Linked DNA regions of Homo sapiens: region 2 is linked to region 1. Evidence: promoter capture Hi-C in human tissues and cell types (Jung and others, 2019). All regions are on one chromosome and are shown on one strand. Each heading gives the region's core, a stretch centred on a gene start or on the middle of the fragment in contact. The rest is flanking DNA. Distances are from core to core; before and after follow the strand shown.

Evidence for each region. Contacts are between HindIII fragments. The study calls those that stand out against the background at their distance.
Region 2: a contact is called between a fragment that was not itself captured here and the fragment with the promoter of GOLM1 in region 1, in 1 of the 25 tissues and cell types used here (H1 embryonic stem cells).

What each region holds. Positions count from the first base shown.
Region 1 is chr9:86,098,123-86,100,936 of GRCh38, reverse strand. It overlaps GOLM1 (golgi membrane protein 1), which reads left to right and starts at 1,379. Exons shown (of 10, transcript NM_016548.4): 1 at 1,379-1,526. RefSeq lists silencers at 1,168-1,487, 1,498-1,597, 1,758-1,807 and an enhancer at 1,438-1,938. The HindIII fragment of the contact is 18,007 bases long and covers 1-2,814 here.
Region 2 is chr9:86,319,847-86,322,660 of GRCh38, reverse strand. It overlaps TUT7 (terminal uridylyl transferase 7), which reads left to right. Exons shown (of 27, transcript NM_024617.4): 14 at 186-336. Among named protein-coding and RNA genes, the nearest start is that of TUT7, 33 kb to the left of the region's middle. The HindIII fragment of the contact is 3,462 bases long and covers 1-2,814 here.

The DNA of each region.
Region 1 (2,814 bases), core at 130-2,629:
TAGAAGATCAAAGTGACACAACTTAAGTCTGCAAAACCAGGGCTGACATCTGATACAGCCTCAGCTTCTGAATGCTTTGGTCTGACCCTACAACAGTTTAACAGTTGCAGATAACAAAAATATCATTTTGGAATATAGTAGAACATTCCTCTAAAGGGGTCATGTATGGTCAGCTTCTAATTCAGCTAAGAGGTTTTAGCTGGTAAAGATACGTTTCCTGCAGTTAAGAAGCTCCATGCTCAGGTAGCAATAGGGTATCTTGATCACCTTTTTTAAGGTGACTCTTTGTTCTGGTTAAAATCAATTTCAGCTGTGAGCATTCCTTTAGGTGTTCATGTATTTACTTGTTTTTTTATTGTGATTTGAGAGAGGCGCAGAGGAAGGAGTTTCCTTTCCCAGACACCAGAGCTAGGAAGACATGAAGACATGATTCTAGGAAAACTGTTCTCAATCTTGGCCGTATACTGTATTAGGATTATCTGGGAAGCTCAAAACAAACAAAAAATATCAAGTTCACTTTGAACTCTGGAAGTGGGACCCTGGTTCCTAAATGCTCTAAAAGCTCCCCAAATAATTCTAATGGATGGCAGGTGCTGCCAGAGTTAAGAACCATTGCTTTAGAATTTTCTAGCATGGTTTCCCTGTAGGTCACTAGTTTTGTGGCATTCTCTCCGGGAGGTACGGCCTCATAGGGCTTCTCAAACATCAGTGCGCCTGAGCGTCATCTGAGGCGCTGTTTCAAATGCAGCTGCCCGGGCTATAAGATCACACCCGAAGGCGTCCGGGAATCTTCACTTTTTCCGTTGCTAGCAGTGGAAGGGTCACAGACCAAACACTAAGGCCTGAGCGGTGACAACCGAGGCGAGATGATGGTCAACAGGGAATGCCTCGTGGGAGAAAAAAGACAATTTTGTGAGTATAAGCCCCCTAAAAACCTGTTTTTCGTTCGCTTCCTTCTCTGGGCAGTTTTGACCCGACGACTTTTATAAAGAAGGTAACGTGAGTGTGGCGCTGGGTGCGGTTGGCTGTTCGGGAACATTCCCTCGGGGCGGAACGTGGGATGGGGGCTCCCCCCAGGTACCCTTTCCCCACAGCCGCTTCCCCGCTCCGCGTCGCTGCTCAGGCGCCAGCTCCCGCGTCGGAAGGGGCGATGGGGTGGCCCGGGGGAAGGGGCAACGCCCAGCGGCGAGAACTGGGCGCACGCTGGCGTTCCTGCTCCCGCCGAGGGGCGGCCACCGGCCGGGGCGCGCGCACCGTGGGGCCGGGAGTCCGCGCGGCCCCGGCAGCCCCTGCCTCGCTTCTCCGCGCTCGCGGCGCCGCCTCCTCCCTTCGCGCCGCCGGCGCTGCTCGGGGGCGGGGCCTTGCCGCTGCGGAGGCCGGAGACGCGGCGGCGCTGGACGCGGAGGCGCTGGGCGCACGGCGCGGAGCCGGCCGGAGCTCGAGGCCGGCGGCGGCGGGAGAGCGACCCGGGCGGCCTCGTAGCGGGGCCCCGGATCCCCGAGTGGCGGCCGGAGCCTCGAAAAGAGGTGAGTGGGCGGCGCGCGGCCCCAGGCTGCCCGAACCGCGGTCCATCGCTTCCTCCCTCCTTTGCCCAGGGCCCGTACCCCGCGCGCCGAGACCTCGCGTCGGTCCCCGGAGCCTCCCCGCGGCTTGCGCCGGGGCTGCAACCTTCGCTGGCTGCGCTCGGGGCTGGCTCCGCACCTTCCTGCACCGAGTAGCCCGCGGCTGCCTGGGCCCCTCGGCTCGCTCCCCAAGACCGGGCGCGCGGCCCCCTTGCCCTGCGATGAGGGGCCTCGCGAGGATTCCCTGCCCTGCAGTCTCAGGCGATGCGGGGCCTGTCTTTTTGTTCTGAGCTTTGTCACGCGCGTCGGCATCCAAAGTCAAAAGCGTGCACCCCCTAAGTCGCACTAGTTCCAGTTCTGCAGCGTGATTTGCACCAGGCGCGGGAGGCTGGCCGAGCCGCGAGTCTCTCGGCTCCCGCCGCCTCTTCCTCCCCTCCAGCCCCAGGCGCGCTCCGGCCGCCCTGGGGTCCACGTTGCCGCTGGGCCTCGTGGCTGGTGACCCCGGAGCTTGGGCTCCGGGTCCTCCCGCCGCGCGTCCAGAGCGCGGCTGCATCCCGTTCTCGTGGATGCTCGGGGTTTTCTCGCATACCTGTGTTTCCACCTTTGCCAACGTGGAGGATCCACACAACTTTGCCCTGCTGTAAAAATCATATCCCATTTAATATTTTTAATGATTTGCTTTTAAGAAACAAAATGTGAAGAATAACAATTTTGATGAAATTTTTTAGCAAAATTTAAGAATTATTATATTTGAAATACCATGATGATGCTGGACAATTTCAGATGTCCCATAGCCAGATTTGCAAAACTAAACTTGTGTGACTTTCACGATTTTGAGGTTTTCTTTGTCTGATTTGGGGTCCCTAGGCCCTACATTATGCACATTATTGAGGAACATTTCTAGGGCTGGATTAGTGAGATACACAATAACCTGATGAAGTATTTAGCAGCGCTTGAGTGGCTTTGTTTAGCTCATGGCCATCAGGTTGGCTCAAATCTCAGTTTTAGTATTTCTGAATTTTGGAGGGCATGGGACAATCTCTTGTCAGTTTTTGTGGGTCTCCAAAGGCATCCTAGCTTCTTCCAGTTGTGTTATAAAAGATGAAGCTAAGCTCATTACTTTCTTTCTTAATAGAAACTAGTAACTTGCTAAGACTTACTGTTTTTAGGCCAGACACTCAATTCTTAAGGTGTCAGTGAACAAAAATTGAATTGTTAGGATGGTTAAAGAAAAGAGGTTAGCTTTTAAGAT
Region 2 (2,814 bases), core at 122-2,621, 220 kb before region 1:
CTATGTTCTCCTAATGATACTATAGGATGTCCCCATCTCTCAGATCATTTGAGTGGATGCATGTTATATTTTCATTTCCTTTGGAAAGTGAATAGGTGACTGTGTACTTTTAAAACATGATTCCAGACTCCTTTATTTGGCAAATAAAGTGTTAAGTCTTGTTTTGCTTTGCCATATTCCTGCAGTCTCCTACGGTAGTGTGCAGCTTATGCAAACGAGAGGGTCATCTAAAGAAGGACTGTCCTGAAGACTTCAAAAGAATCCAGCTAGAACCTCTGCCACCATTAACACCCAAGTTTTTAAATATCTTAGATCAAGTCTGTATCCAGTGTTATAGTAAGTTATTCACATTTCTTTTGATTTGTCAAAATATTAAATTGACATTTACTCGAGTCTTTAGAATCACTATCCTATTTAGGTCTCTAAACATTATTAGGGACCAAGTCTATTCCATTCTCCATTGTATCCTCAAGCGTTCCATGTCATGTCTGTTCTGTTTGGGACATGCAATAAATGTCAAAGAAGGATGAGGAGAGATGCAGGGAGGATCTTTTTTATTTAAAAAAAAATTTTTTTTTAAATTTTGAGACAGGATCTCATTCTGTCACCCAGACTGGAGTGTAGCAGAGCAATCATGAGTCACTGCAGCCTCGACCTCCCAGACTAAAGCAATCCTCTCACCTCAGCCTCCCAAGTAGCTGGGAGCACAGATGCATGCCACTATGCCTGACTAAATTTTTCATTATTTGTAGAGACACAGTTTCCCTGTGTTACCCAAGCTAGTCTTGAACTCCTGGGCTCAGGCAAATGGAGGATCTTTTATTTTTCTTTTAATATCAAGTGCCTTCTGTACTTCCTTTTATTAACAGCATAGTTGTTGCATCAAGATACATAGCAATCATAGCAGGTTTCCTTTTTTGGAGGGTGATGGTGAGACAGGGTCTTGCTCGGTCCCCCAGGCTGGAATGCAGTGGCGCAATATCAGCTCTCCACAGCCTCTAACTCCTGGACTCAAGCAATTCTTCTGCCTCAACCACCCAAGTAGCTGGTATTACAGGCATGCATCACCACACCCAGCTCATTCTTATATTTTTTGTAGATACAGGGTTTCACCACGTTGGCCAGGCTGGTCTCAAACTCCTGACCTCAAGTGATTCATCCAACTGAGTCTCCGAAAGAGCTGGGATTACAGGCTTGAGCCATGGCGCCTGGCCAGCAGGTTTCTTTTTAAAGCTTAGTATTAAATATCTTTCCCCATTTAAATTTTCCATTACTCTGCCAAGAAAAAAAATTTTTTTTTTTTTGAGACAAAGTCTAGCTCTGTCACCCAGGCTGGAGTGCAGTGGTGCGATCTCAGCTCACTGCAACCTCCACCTCCTGGGTTCAAGCAATTCTCCTGCCTCAGCCTCCTGAGTAGCTGGAATTACAGTCATGCACCACCATGTCCAGCTAATTTTTTTTTTTTTTTTTAGTAGAGATGGGGTTTCACCATATTGGCCAGGCAAGTCTCAAACTCCTGACCTCCAGTGATCCGCTCGCCTTGACCTCCCAAAGTGCTGGGATTACAGGCGTGAGCCACCGCTCCCGGCCAAAAATTAAAATTCAAGTTACTTGAAGCCTGGACACACTTCCCTGGCTAGCTGGGCTATGTAAAGGTTGGTGGTGTTATTCTTCCTGCTGTGTAAGCAGATCCAGGCCCCAGAAAGAAGGGACCAGGTTATATAATTGTTTTTGAAAAGTTTGCTACAAAAATGCATGGCCTGTTATAAGCCAGGATACAAAGTAAGGATGAGGGTAAGGGAGCGACATTTTTTTCCAGAAGAAAGATATTTTCTGAAGAGTCTCAGTTCATAATTTTCCCAAAATCGTTGGAAGAGAGGGTAAAATCTCAATATGAATTTCAAAGTACTGTCTCTGTGAGGGGCCGAAAGTTGCCTTGCTGAGGATCTTTTATTAAGTCTTAAAATTAGAGTAGTAGCATTTCCCAGCTGGCATTCTTTGAAATGTTTTTCTAGATGGCAGTTAATAATATTTCATCACCAGAAGTATACCTAGGCCAGCGAGGGAATAACACTACACACTCCCTTCTCTCTTAGAATTCCTGGGTTATTTCCAGGACATATTAGCATATTGAAGGTATCTGAGAAATATTATTTCTAAAATTTGAACATAGAATAATTTTTGAGTAACGCTAATTAATAGCCTACTTAACAGCCCTTTAAGGAACACAAATTTGGGGAAGCATTGGTGTAGAGAGCCTTAAAGTTTTACAAAAGAAAATATTTAAAGGATAGATGTTCAGCTGCTTAAAATGAAGGAACTTGTTTCACATGGCTTCATCATAAGGTGTTCATCCGTGTCAGAAGACACGTGTTCTTAACAAGTCCTTTTTTTTTTTTTTTTGGGAAATTTTTTTTTTTTATATTATGAGCTATTAAAAAAACTAGGTTCTCCTTAGGGAAAAAAATACATGCAAATGCTCACAAACTTTTAAATTCACACTTTAGCGGGGTGGTGATTTCTGAAGGCCCTTTCTGTAACCCTGGTGTCTTTCAGGAAACCCAGGTGGAGATCCCATGTTTAAATTACTTTCCGTTTCAAGAGCACTTCTTAGATTCTTTAAAAAAGGACATCTTAAATTTTACATTACTGTTACAAAAATTAGCCAGGCATGGTGGTACATGCCTATAGTCCCAGCTACTCGGGAGGCTGAGGTGGGAAGATGGCTTGAGCCTGGGAGGCAGAGGTTGCAGTAAGCTAAGATCACACTACTGCACTGCAGCCTGGCCGACAGAACCAGACCTTATCTCAAAA